Linked DNA regions of Homo sapiens: regions 2 and 3 are each linked to region 1. The links are contacts of gene promoters, found by promoter capture Hi-C in blood cells and fetal thymus (Javierre and others, 2016). All regions are on one chromosome and are shown on one strand. Each heading gives the region's core, a stretch centred on a gene start or on the middle of the fragment in contact. The rest is flanking DNA. Distances are from core to core; before and after follow the strand shown.

The links. Contacts are between HindIII fragments. The CHiCAGO score rates a contact against its expected background, and 5 or more counts as called.
Region 2: a fragment that was not itself captured here is called in contact with the fragment with the promoter of SULT1E1 in region 1 in 1 of 17 cell types (activated CD4 T cells); the score reaches 5.2 in activated CD4 T cells.
Region 3: a fragment that was not itself captured here is called in contact with the fragment with the promoter of SULT1E1 in region 1 in 4 of 17 cell types (neutrophils, M0 macrophages, monocytes and 1 more); the score reaches 9.2 in neutrophils.

Annotation. Positions count from the first base shown.
Region 1 is chr4:69,857,927-69,862,775 of GRCh38, forward strand. It overlaps SULT1E1 (sulfotransferase family 1E member 1), which reads right to left and starts at 2,219. Exons shown (of 8, transcript NM_005420.3): 1 at 2,123-2,219. The HindIII fragment of the contact is 12,779 bases long and covers 1-4,849 here.
Region 2 is chr4:69,644,350-69,649,198 of GRCh38, forward strand. UGT2A1 (UDP glucuronosyltransferase family 2 member A1 complex locus) reads right to left here. Exons shown (of 7, transcript NM_001252275.3): 2 at 2,581-3,349. The coding sequence starts at 3,295. Among named protein-coding and RNA genes, the nearest start is that of UGT2A1, 6.5 kb to the right of the region's middle. The HindIII fragment of the contact is 181 bases long and covers 2,035-2,215 here.
Region 3 is chr4:69,675,260-69,680,108 of GRCh38, forward strand. No RefSeq gene overlaps it. Among named protein-coding and RNA genes, the nearest start is that of UGT2A1, 24 kb to the left of the region's middle. The HindIII fragment of the contact is 2,976 bases long and covers 1,235-4,210 here.

The DNA of each region.
Region 1 (4,849 bases), core at 969-3,468:
ATTATATTTATTCCGTGATAAATAAAAACCACAGAACCTTCAATTTCTTTCAAAATTGCTGGGGCATATAAAAAGACAAAGAGGTCCAGAATTACAGTTATTTTAGCAAATTATCCAATTATGTATATGTCAAATAACAATAAAGATCATTACATTTGATTATTATTGCCGGGTATCTAAGTCAGAGATTTTTGACTTCCTGAATATGTATCATTTTTTTAAATAAACCAAATGCTTGGTGAATGTATTTAAAAGAAAAGATGAAATTAATTACACTGTAATGGTTATATCAAAGAAATGGAATCTTGAGAGTATAAAGGATTCCTCTGTGACCTTTAAAATTACTTTTTTCCCCATTCGATCAATAAGGTAGTGGATACTCCCATTGAATGACTTGGCTAAAAATGATAAGGTTAAGCAAGATGGTTATCATTTCCTAATTCATCTCCTGATCCCATGACAATCTATTTCATGTTCAAGGTTACTAACAGAATTTTTAATTAGGCATACTTTCTTTCATTAGCTTTCAAATTCCTTTAGTATCTTGTTTTTTCAACTGCCAAACTTAGCTTATTTCAAGTTTCTGACATAGCTTCCCAACACATTTTGTCTTTCCTGACATTAGCCTTTCTAGATCTTCCTCCTGTTCACATTTGCCCAAAAACCTGCCTGATAAGTTCTTCTACACACATAAATTGCCCCAGCCCTTAGGACAATCTCAACTTTTAAAAAACCTTCCTCTACATCATATCAGATGTAATGTCACCAAAAATATGAGATTTCTATTTCCAAAATGCATATTAGCCTTATCAATAAATCACTTGTTCCCCAAGCCTTCTCCTTAGTCTCAGAAAATAGATCTTTCACTAGAAGAAATGTGTATAAAATGCACCACGATTTGTCCTGCCTATTGGTTTGCTTACTCATGTGAATTACTTTCTTGGTGTTCAGCCAAGTTTATAAGAATTGGCTTATAGTCAGCTGGGAGTGGTAGATTTATCATTAAGTGGTTGGCTGACTTCCAGCTACTCCTTCATAGTCAATTTTGGTCTGAGAGGCAAAGTAGGTGGCATGTAATAAAATATCTTTTCTCATTCTATTCCTTTTGGTAAATTGTCTCATATTACAATGTATGGATTTACTTCCTATGTGATCCCCATTTTCTCAAAAGATCTATTTCAGTTAGAAATTGTCAATTTTTTATTCTGAGTATGTAGGTCAGTTGTTCAGAAATAAACATCAAAAAAGTTGTTAAAATTGTGACTTATAAATTCAATTAAACTCAGAAAGTGTTTTTCCTTCCCGCTCTCCTTCCTCTCTTTCTTCCTTTCTTTCTGCATACTCCCCTCCTGCATCTTCCAACCTGCCTTTTATCCAGCAAATACTCCCTATGTGAATGCCTACCCTTTTCCTAGGCCCTGTAGTCAGTGCTAGAATACTATGGTGGATATAGATACATAGGGTTCTCATAGTCCCTACTTTCTTAGATTTACCTGTATGAGGGCAAAGTGACTTTTGTACATGTTTCTATCCCAATCTCCAGCACTATGACACAAAGTAGATGTTCAGAAATATTTGTTAAGTTCAATTATTAGATCAAGAAGCTCTCTAGTTTCTACTAAGTAAGGATTCACAGATTTAAAAGGCAATATATGTCAATGACCTACATATTAATTATTTACCAAGGACTTTGGATTTCTGTCATATTTATCTGAAGTTTCTTACATGAAAGTAATGCCCCTATTTGCAAGACCCCTTATCACAGGAACACAAAACTAAAAGTCAATCTCTATTCTACCTCCTTCTACCCTGCTTGCTTTATTTTCTCATTGGTAAAATGGAGAACACGTCCAGCATTCAGCACTTTTAAGATAGCAATGGTACTGTAATTTTACATTAAAGCAATAAGCAACAAAATACTACATAAATGTAAAATATTATTTTTAACAACAAATTATTTTAAAAGGTTTTAAATGCTTCACATCATTAATTAACTAAAGTATCAATCAAGACTTTGGTCTTTGTATATTTTATTTTTAAGAGCTTTGTAATACATAATTTTCATTCTATATTTTATATATCTAAAATCTAAGTATTGATATTAATAATAAAAAAGTACAACCTGTTTAGTTGATCCTGTGAAAGAAATTGATCTAGTTTATATCTCTTCAAATACCAAGGCAGATCTTAAGCTGCAAAAAAAGATGAGAACCACTTCTGCATTTGGAATGTTTCTGGTGAGTTTATATCCTGAATGCCAGAGAAGGAGGTGGAGATTAATTTGGGGGCTTGGCTTCATGAAGTCCATGATGCAATAGTTAATGTAGATGTAAATGCATACCTGCAGCTGCAGTAACCACACAGAGTCATGTTCATTCATGGAGATGTAGAAATATCCTGCTGTTATTTTTTTAATTATTTGGCTCATATTCAAATTCCCAAGTCTGCCGTCAGGGGTTGGGGAAGAAGGAGGGAGAAAAGGAAAAGATGAGAAAGAAGAGGCCTGGGAAGAGAGACTGGGAAGGGAGAATCCCTTATTCACTCATTGACAAATAATAGCATGACTATGGTTAACTTTCAAAAGAATAAACTTATTGGAGTGAAGAAAGAGAAGCCAATGAGGAAAGAAATAAGACAGCAAGGACCCTCAATCAGACCTAGCTCAGTTTATTAAGACCTGCCAAAGAAGTCATTGGGTTGTATCTTAACATGTCAATTGGAAAACACCTATTTAAACTCTTTGCCTTTAACTCTTAAGCAGACCTGAAAATTTTAAAAAGCAGATGACAGCTAAAGAAAGAATGTAAACATCACTCACCTTTCGATTATTATTTTAGAAACCTGACTTCTCTCTGCTCCCAACCACAAAATAGCATACTGTGAATTTTTCAGGTAATGATAGCTACCAACACTTGGAATTTACACAAGAGAATTAGAAAAATAAATGGCCAAGGGTTTGTGGAATCCACAAATGCATTACCTTTCTTTTCATTTTTCTGCACCTACTCTGTCACTTAAGAAAATTATCCTTTGCTCCACCCCATCAACACCTCCAACCCTGTTATTTCTTATTTCTCTATTAATTACTGTTAGATTACATTTCCTTTGAGAGGCTCACTCTTACAAGACTCTATGTTTCTCTTAGTGACTTTTAAACTTTGAACTTTCTCCTAACTAGTATTTATTTTACTGTGTTGTAAATCAATGTTTGCTTGTCCAGAGTACTTTTTAAATTATAAATAGCTTGAAAACAGGGTCTTACTCTGTAATTAGCATTTTTTTCTGGCATCTAGTAGGCTAGGCATTGAATATGTATTTACTGAATAAAAGTGGCTGATTTATTCAAGAAATATAAGAAGTTAAGGGGGCTATAGTTGTTATAGAAAGCAATATCTAGCCTTATGCAAAATAAGAGGTGTTAAGTGGTTTCTGAAAAATGGGGCTTTTCATAATAGAAAATTAAGGTAGAAAAGGAGTAACCAGGGACCCAAATTTAGATTTTCATTTTACTTTGTTTTATGCAGTCTGTCATATTATTTGAGTTAAATAAAATATGTGTTGAAAAACAATCATTAAATGTACAAATTTACTCATTCATATGCCTACTATGTACCTTTAAAAATTAAGTATATATATACAAATTTAATACAGAATATAATTTTTAACCTTGCAGCATAGCTTCACTTTATTTTTTTAATGACAAGAATCTATGAAGTTTCCTTTATTGTTTAGCGAAAACATTTTTTAGTCCAAAAAAATCAGAAAATGAGCACAAGCTAATATAAACAGATTTAACCTCAATACATCTGTCTGTTTTTCACTTGTAAACAATTGGTTGCAGGGATGTCACAAATGCTCCTAACTCATGTAATTCTGGCAACCACAGATGTTCAATACACATTTATTCTTAGAAAATCTTTCTAATGTTAAGAATTCACTTACTGATAAAAACAAAACAACAGGCAAGATGGCCCTGAAACCTCATTCTTCTCCATGAGTAATGGGTACAGACTGAGTTACAAAATGTTTGAGTCAATGTCAAAAAAAAAAATGGATCTCAGATAAGGACCGGTTTTTAATGTTTATCTTGACCCTCAGAATTTGGGCAGATATCTTGAAAATATGTACATTTATTAAGTATTATAATAATGTCAAACAAAAAGAATGTGGGCAGATATGCAGACAGACATACTGCTGTTATACTCTGAAACACTGAAAACAAGTGTAAAGCTGGCACTTCTGTGTGACAGAGTTCCCAAAACAATTACTGTGGCTTTTTTGTGACTATTGGGCTTTTTCTGTAGCACACACTTTCTCTGGATCAAGATTAAAAGTCCTATAGAGTCTTTTTTATAAATAGCAAGATTTTAATATTAATAATGTGAAAATAAGTTGCATGTTTAACTGAGCCTTTGTCAAAGTTAACCTGTAATCCCCATTACTTGGGAAGCTGAGGCAGGAGAATCTCTTGAACCCAGGACGCAGAGGTTGCAGTGAGCCGAGATGGTGCCACTGCCCTCCATCCTGGGCAACAGAGCCAGACTAATTCTCAAAAAAAACCCAAAAAACAAACAAACAAACAAAAAACAGTGTTGATACATCAGCATTAACTAAAGTCCATGGTTTACGTTAGGATTTACTCTCTGTTGTATACAATTCTATAGTTTTTGATAAATGCATATTGCCACAAGTTTGTCAATACAATACCATACAGAACAGTTTCACTGCCCTAAAAATCCCTCGTTCTAAACCTATTCATCCTGCCTTCCCTACTCTGAAATCCTAGCAATGACTGATCTTTTTATTGTCTGTAGTTTTGCCTTTTCCACAATGTCACGTAGGTGGAGTC
Region 2 (4,849 bases), core at 875-3,374, 210 kb before region 1:
TGATGAGCAGTTGACAAAACTGAAGTGGTAGGATTGAAAATGTAAATACAAATTGTGACCAAGAGACGGTCTATGTACATTCCGCTCTTATATGAACGGAGATGCTGCACATATTCAGAGTCCCTTTTAGTTTACCATACACCTGAGGATATGAAGGAGATTTTGCCATCTTGACAGTTTCATTGCTTCACAAAACTTCAATTTTTTTTCTCTGCTTTCTTTTAAGATCTAGTTTCAACCATAAGATGTTTCCCATTCACTTTTATCTTTATAGGACACTTGAAGGTTTATCTATAATCATTGTAGCAAGGCTTGTATTCTCTGAATGACAGAATAGCTAGCTCTTCTTTTACATCCCAAGATTTAAAGATCTGTTTTTGAATTTTGGGCCAATTACTTAACATACCCAGAGGAGGTGATGACTTTTGCTATCAGTGCTAATTATAATTGGTTTACCAGCTTTTGATAATAATCATTCACATGGCTGTAGTATCTCACATCCTCATTCACATACTAACCTATGCATATTTATTTTGATTGATACATATCAACTTTACAGTTGTTTTAGAACAGAGATCTGTAGAAAAGAAGCTAATGTGTCAGTAGGTATCACTACACAGAAATCTCACTTTTTCTTTTGCCAACATTCACGCAACCCACTGTTTTACACAGTGCACTTCGTCATCTTTAAATTATTTTTAATAGCATTTAGGATGTTCATTCATTAGCTAGTAAACATCTCTAGGCCTTACAAGCTCTGCTTAGCAAACATTACAGTCTCTGCAGTCTGTGCATTATTACTTTGTTATCAGTAACGAATGCACACAAATTAATGTGTCAATGTTAATAACCCATGAGATTACCTCTGAGATCTCATCCCGTATATCCAGCTGCTTACTGGATTTCGCCAAATATTCCCAAAAGTATCACATACACAGCATGTCCAAAATTCAATGCAATATTAATTTTTACTCTCCCATATTCGCTATCAGGGTTGATTGGGCCACACTATTCTAAAATCCTTTCAGATGTAAACTAATTTAGTCCTTTTAGTAGCCCTGTCAGAGATGAGATAAATGAAGTTCAGGTGCAAGGAGACTGAATTACTTTTCCCAGCCACAGACTGCTATGTGGATGTTGCCTGTAAGCACCTGCTCTCCCAATTGTGTTGCTAGGTAGTCTCATACTGCATTATTTTCCTCCATTTATCAGCTACTTCTGTAGGGCAGGCTCCTACCACATCTTTCCTAGAGTGATACATTAGTCTAGTCTCACACCTCTCAACTCTACTGCCACATCTGTCCAAGTGTTTTACGTAAAATGAAAATCAGGTCATAATATTTCCCTTTAGATGGTCCTGAATTGCTTATTAGATTAAAATGTTTTTAGAATGACATACAGGAGACTTTGAAATATTCATTGAATTAATTCACTCATTCTTGCGGTTCCGACGTCATTAGCATCTTCCTCCATGTCTCCCTACCTTACACTTGAACCTTCAGAAATACTAAATTATCAGAAATATCCATCGCACCTGTGCTGTTTTGTCTTCAACTTTGAGCACACTTTTCCTTCCCCATTCTTACCTTGCAGAAAAACTCACATTCAGTATTTTAAAATATCCTTATGCATTATCTGAACTCTGAAGTTTTTCAGAATAACTCACTCTGTCTGTCGCATAATACCTAACTCCTCTACATTTTGTATTTTGTATATATTTCCATATTTACATAATTCACATAATAAATATTCCTTTTAATGTCTGATTTATCTGTTTGTGAAATCCTTGAATCCATGGACTTTATTTTAGTCTTCCTATCTAAAAGAGTGCTTAGTAAAGAGTAAGAAATCTATAATTAATGAAGAATAAATGATAAAATTCAAAAGCATAAAAAATGGGCAAGGCCTGTTTGATTTTTAGACAAATATGTGTATAAATGTATCAACATGATCAATATAGGCTTTTATTCTAGTACCATTGATTATATTGTATTCATCAGGTAAACACCATATCACACTTAAGCAAATTAAATAAGCTTAGCATGGATAAATCACCCTGATCAATGGTTGTAGTTCACACCTTACAATTAAAGGTGATAAAGCCTTAATGTATTTTGTTTCTTTATGAGCCTTAATATTTATTAAGTGATGATCAGAGATTATCCACATATATGTATGTTCTTAAACGTGCATATTAATGTCTGTATTAATAATAAGCTTGTGGAAAGTTTAACATTTTCCGGCTTTCTCCACACATCACTGCAGTTTCTAGGCAATTTCTATTTTGAGCATAATTATCTACATGAGATCCAGCCCAACTTTTAAATTGAAGTATTTGTCACTATATTTTATCCATAAAAGAACTGAATTGATATATTTAAGTCCATGCAATTAGAAAACAACACACTGTACTTCTGAAGTACAATGTCTTTTATCTTCTTTTCTGCTATCAAGTGATAGTAATATATAGTACATCAATACTTGGAATTAAAAAAGAATAGACATAGGGAAATAAAGAAGAGGCTCTACAAAGGTCTGTTTGTTCAAATTCAAGTAATAAAAACAAAATTTGTTACATACCTAAAGCTTTACTATAGTATGAATCCCATGATTTCCAAAGAGTTTCAAACATGTAGTCCTGTAGGTGGTAGGAGATGAAATTTCTTATTCTGTCAGTGAAAGACATTTGGTCGGTGAGTTCTGATAAAACAGCAGGAACATAGGAAGGAGGGTATGGTACCTTCCCACAGTGCTTTTCCACTGTTGAGGCTGGAGAAAACCTCAAGGAGTACATAAATGGAATTCCAAGTTTTAAAGCTACTATATCGCCACAAGGAAATACTGGATCAGACACCAGGACTTCAAACTTGCTTTTCTTTAGCTTTGCCATCAGCTGTTGGTTTTTAAGAACGCCATCACAGATCTCCTGAGACACCATGTGGAAGTCCTTGATTACTTTGGCCATCTCCTGATAGAATCTCCAAATGGTTGAAGGAGATGGTCTATTTTCCAGCCATGTCAAAACGAAGTCCTTAATTACTCCTTCTATTCTTTCTTTGCCAAAGGGCACCTTATATATTTCAAATGTCAGAGATGGGTTAGAGGTTGGTGTGATGAAAAGTGCACCAGAGGCAACTAGGACAGTCACATTATGCTCCTTTTTAATGAGCTCATCTATAATTATCTTAACATTTAGCCAATGACTACCTTCCATTGGCCAAATCAAAACATTCCCACCAAGAGTGGTTCCTATGAGACTTATCTGAAGGGAGAACAGCAGAAGGTTGTTTAACATGATGTGGCTTGATGCAGAAGATTTGATGAGATGTGAAGCAAATGTTTTTCTCTGCTTTTAAAGAAAAAAAGGAAAGACAAAATTATTTCTCAATTTTGAGGCAAACCATTAATATCCTTAAAAGCCTTCTTTCTAGAAAGTGATACTAGTCATAGTAGCTCCATATTTTAGGATATTTACAGATTTATGGGTAATGTGTCTTACTTCTCAAATCTGTTGTTTTAATTTTAGTGTTTTAGTTATGATTCCTGCTGTCTAATCCTCCTTTTGAACTTGATACTCCAACCCTTTTTTGTGTGTTTCATAATTGTTACATTTTTACTATTAAATTGGATAAAGCTTCTGTACATCTCAACTCTACATTCAGGCCTAGGTATTGAAACCTCAGATAGGACCAAAACTCATTCAGAAATTTAAAGATGTTAATGCTGTAAGTTTTTAAATTTTTAATGCATGAATATAATTCCATTTATCACAATTAAACATTATAATAACAGTTACAATATATAAGATTGTCAAATAATATGTATAAATATATTACTATAAATATTTATAAATTCAAATATTTATAAATTCAAATAATACTTATAAATAATATGTATAACACATATAGTATTATATTACTACTTTAGTAATATGTTTACAAAAATAGTTTGTTAATCCTCAAGAAAATATTATAAATAAATGAATAAAATAAAATATGTGCAAGAGATTATAGGTAATGCTAGTAGTGAATAGGAGCTATTTAAGAGAATTACTAAGTCAAGCATACATCTACCAAAAGTGCTGTTCAAAAACTATCTAGCCTGCATGAAAAACAGCTACTTGACATCTAGATTCAGCCTTCAACAACTGCTAGCGTTTATTAAGTCCTTGTTATGTCAGACATTACGCAAACTCTTTAACACGTTAATTTCATTTCTTCCTTATTTTAAAAATTATCCAATTATGGATCTTTTATAATTACTCCCACATCAAAGAAAAAGAAACCACTGCCCAAAGAGATTGAATAATTTGCCATGTTCCTACAGCAAAATAAGAAAATATTACTTATTGGGTACAATGGAAATACAGTGTACACTACTTGAGTGATGGGTATACTAAAACCTCAGATTTCACCACTACACAATGTACCCAAACAGGACAACTGCACTTGAACCCCTAAATCTATAAAAATAAGAATAAATAAAAGATAGGAACTGCTGGTAGCAGTCTTAAGGATCTCTGACTCCCACAGCCTATTGTATTAACCACTGGGATAGATTGCCACATCAAAATGTATCACGTCCCCTTACCAACTAAGGAATCCATATGAATAGCAGCCTGCCAAAAGCATGCTAACACAATACAAAATTGTGTAACGCACATTGGATAATATCGGATCAAGTAATTCAAGTAAAGCGATCTCTGTGAAAATATTATGTTTGTATGCATATGTCTGTGAATAAGCAGAGTGATCCTTTTCATGTTAATAAATCTTCTGAAATTATAAATTCTATATTTTTAGTAATATCATAAAAATGTCTCTTCTAAGCTCTCCCATCACCAAAGATA
Region 3 (4,849 bases), core at 1,473-3,972, 180 kb before region 1:
AGCGGGAGGTACTCCACACTTTTAAACAACTACATCTAGTGCGAACTCACTCACTATCATGAGAACAGAAAGGAAGAAATCCACCCCCATGATCCAGTCAGCTCCCAACAGGCCCCTCCTGCAACACTGGGAATCACAATTAGGCATGAGATTTGGGCATGGACACGAATCCAAACAATATCAACAGACCCATATCTAGTATCATACTAAATGGGGAATAACCGAAAGCCTTTCCTCTAAGATCTGGAACATGACAAGGATGCCCACTGTCACCACTGTTATTCAACATAGTACTTGAAGTCCCAGCTGGGGCAATCAAACAAGAGAAAGATAAAGGACATGGAAATTGGAAAGGAAGAAGTCAAATTATCCTTGTTTGCAGATGATATGATAATATATTTGGAAAAACCTAAGGGCACCACTGAAAAACTACTAGACCTGATAAACAAATTTAGTAATGTTGCAGGATATAAAATCAACATACAAAAATCAGCAACATTTCTACATTCTGACAGCATACAATATGAAAAAGAAATAAAAAAGTAATAGCATTTACAATAGCTACACATAAAATTAAAAATGAAAAGATATTCCATGTTCATTCGTTGGAAGAATCAATATTGTTAAAATGTCCATATTACCCAAAGCAATCTACAGATTCGATGCAATCCCTATAAAAATACCAATGACATTCTTCACAGAAATAGAAAAAACAATCCTAAAATGTGTGTGGAACCACAAAAGACCCCAAATAGCCATAGGTATCCTAAGGAAAAAGACACAACTGGGGTAATCACATTCCCTGACTTCAAATTATATGACAGAGCTATAGTAACCAAAGCAGCATTGTACTCACATAAAAACAGACACAGAAACAAATGGAACAGAATAGAGAACCCAGAAACAAAAACCACACACGTACAGTGAACTCATTTTTGAGAAAGGTGCCAAGAATATACACTGGAAGAAAAGACAGTCTCTTCAATAAATAGTGCTGGGAATACTGGATATCCATATGCAGAAGAATGAAACTAGCTCCTATCTCTCACCAGCTACCAAAATCAAATTAAAATGAATTAAAGACTTATATCTAAGACCTCAATCTACGAAACTACTTCAAGAAAACATTTGGGAAAATTTCCAAGACATCGTTCTAGGCAAAAATTTATTGAGCAATTCCTTACAAGCATAGGCAAACAAAGCAAAGACAGAAGAACGGGATCACAAGTTAAAAAGCTTCTGCACATCAAAAAAATACAATTCACAAAGTAAGGAGAAAGCCCAAAGAAATGGAGAAAATATCTGTAAACTACCCATCTGACAAGGGCTTAATAACTAGAGTATATAAGGAGCTTGAACAATTCTATAGGGGAAAAAAATCTAATAATCCAGTCAAAAATGGGCAGAAGTAAGCATTTCTCAAAAGAAGAAATACAGATGGCAAACAGGCATATGAAAATGTGCTCAACATCATTGTTCATCAGAAAAATGTAAATCAAAACTGCAATGAGCTATCATCTCACCCCAGTTGAAATGGCTTATATCCAAAAGACAGACATTAATAATGATGCTGAGGATGTGGAGAAAAAGGAAATGATGGTGGAAATGTAAGTTAATACAACCACTATGGAGAACAGTTTGGAGGTTCCTCAGAAAACTAATAATTGAGGTACCATATGATCCAGCAATCTCACTGCTAGGTATATAGTGAGAAGAAAGGAAATTAGTGTATTGAAGAGATATCTGCATTCCTGTTTGTTGTAGCACTCTTCACAGTAGTCAAGATTTGGAAGCAACGTATGTGTCCATCAAGAGATAAATGGATAAAGAAAACGTGGTACATAATGCACAATGGAGTACCATTCAGCCATAAGAAAGAATAAGATTCTGTCATTTGCAACAACATTGGTGGAACTGAAGATAATTATTTTAAGTGAAATAAGACAGGCACAGAGAGACTAACGTCACATGTTCTCACTTATTTGTGGAATCCAAAAGTCAAAACAACTGAACTCATAGACATACAGAAGAAGGATGGTTTCCAGAGGCTGAGAATGGTAGTGAGGGGCTGGAGGGAGGAAGGAGGTGGAGATGGTTAATGTCTACAAAATAAATAGAAAGAATAAATAAGACCTACTGTTGATAGCAGAATAGGGTGACTATAGTGAATAATAATTGTACATTATAAAATAACTTAAAGATGTAATTGAGTTGTTTGTAACTCAAAGGATAAATGCTTGAAGAGACAGATACCCCATTCTGCATAAGGTGGCTATTTTGGTTATTTCACATTGCATGACTTTATGAAAGGCATACCATATATCCCATAAATATATACATCTACCGTGTACTCAAAAAAAAATTTAAAAATTAAAAAAAAATTTTAGAGATCCATAGTATATTTTAGAGATCCATAGAGCCCATCTTGCATATTCTGTTGCTTTTGAAAGCATTTCTTTGACTTTGCATATTTTTTAATATCAAGTGGGTAAAAATATAACACAGAGAAACTCAATTATTTTTCTAAAAGCACACATTTATCTTGTAAAAACTTTATGTTGTTTCTTTACATAGAGTATTCATGTCAAAATTCAGTATGCATAACCAAAGATCATATTAACATTACCTTTATATCATAAAGTCTATGGGTCTTCAAAATCTTAACATTTCATTAAGTACCCTAGTTTTTTGATCTTAGGTACAATGATCAATAATAATACCTAATCATCTGTTCATAGAAGTGAACATTATATATATATAACTGTATTTAAAATCTCAACCACAAGTAGTGTCTTTTGACTTTCTCTTTAAAATCATTTTCACTAGATTTAAAATATTTCATGTAGAAAGGATTAATGCCCAGCTAGCAAAATTCATTTTTTTAAAATTTTAATTTAGTTTTATGAGCAGTCCCTCTTTTTTTAATATTATACTTTAAGTTCTAGGGTACATGTGCACAATGTGCAGGTTTGTTACATAGGTATACATGTGCCATGGTGGTTTGCTGCACCCATCAACTCATCATTTACATTAGGTATTTATCCTAATGCTATCCCTCCCCCAACCCCCCCCCAACACCGACAAACCCCAGTGTGTGATGTTCCCCTCCCTGTGTCCAAATGTTCTAATTGTGAAATTCCTACCTATGAGTGAGAACACGCAGTGTTTGGTTTTCTGTCCTTGTGATAGTTTGCTGAGAATGATGGTTTCCAGCTGCATCCATGTACCTGCAAAGGACATGAACTCATCCTTTTTTATGGCTGCATAGTATTCCACGGTGTGTATGTGCCACATTTTCTTAATCCAGTCTATCATTGATGGACATTTGGGTTGGTTCCAAGTCTTTGCTATTGTGAATAGTGTCACAATAAACATAGGTGTTCATGTGTCTTTATAGTAGCATGATTTATAATCCTTTGGGTATATACCCAGTAATGAGATCACTGGGTCAAATGGTATTTCTAGTTCTAGATTGTTGAGGAATTGCCACACTGTCTTCCACAATGCTTGAACTAATTTACACTCCCACCAACAGTGTAAAAGTGTTCCTATTTCTCCACATCCTCTCCAGCATCTGTTGTTTCCTGACTTTTTAATGATCACCATTCTAACTGGCATGAGATGGCATCTCATTGTGGTTTTGATTTGCATTTCTCTGATGACCAGTGATGATGAGCTTTTTTTTCATGTGTCTGTTGGCTGCATAAATGTCTTATTTTGAGAAATGTTTGTTCGTATCCTTTGCCCTCTTTTTGATGTTTTTTTTTTTCTTGTAAATTTGTTTAAGTTCTTTGTAGATTCTGGATATTAGCCCTTTGTCACATGGGTAGATTGCAAAAATTTTCTCCCATTCTGTAAGTTGCCTGTTCACGCTGATGGTAGTTTCTTTTGCTGTGCAGAAGCTCTTTAGTTTAATTAGATCCCATTTGTCTCTTTTGGCTTTTGTTGCCATTTGCTTTTGGTGTTTTAGTCCTGAAGTCCTTGCCCTTGCCTATGTCCTGAATAGTATTGCCTAGGTTTTCTTCTAGGGTTTTTATGTTTTTAGGTGTAACAGTTAAGTCTTTAATCTATCTTGAATTAATTTTTGTATAAGGTGTAAGGAAGGGATCCAGTTTCAGCTTTCTACATATGGCTAGCCAGTTTTCCCAGCACCATTTATTAAATAGGGAATCTTTTCCCCATTTCTTGTTTTTCTCTATTCTTAAGCCCAAGCTTATATATTTGTCAGTACAATAACATTTAGTTTTTTTCTTTTTGTGCCATAAGGATACATCTATTTCCTCAACTACACCTCCCGTAAAATTTTTTAAATTCCTGTTTTATTGTGTTTAATGTATATAACTCTGGGAAGTGAGGCACTTAAGGATGGGGGTAAGGTAGTGTGTTGGGATGCATGATACTAAACAGTCAACGTATGTTTCAGCAGTGAGACACATGGAGCACTCAAAGGTGCTGAAAAGACAATATTATAAGATCTCTGTAACTCATACCTGAATCAGTCTAATATATGGACACTTTGCTAGAATAATTTACAATTGCTAAAAATATAATAGGGACCATATTTGCCTTCAGAATAGTATATAAGTACAGAACCACTCTAGTCTCCATGATATCAATTTTAAGGTAATTACACAAAGAAAACACACTCAAGAAAAACATCTCTAAAAGCATAAAATAAATATTGGCACAAAAAATATGTGGAATAAGGAGATAAAAATCATGGCACTAAAATATTGAAATAGGATCTTAATTAAAAGACAACAAAATTTGATGCAATGCATTTGGAGACATACTTTGCTACTAAAATTATACATTTATTGTGTAATAAATATTGCACGAGTCTTCTCTG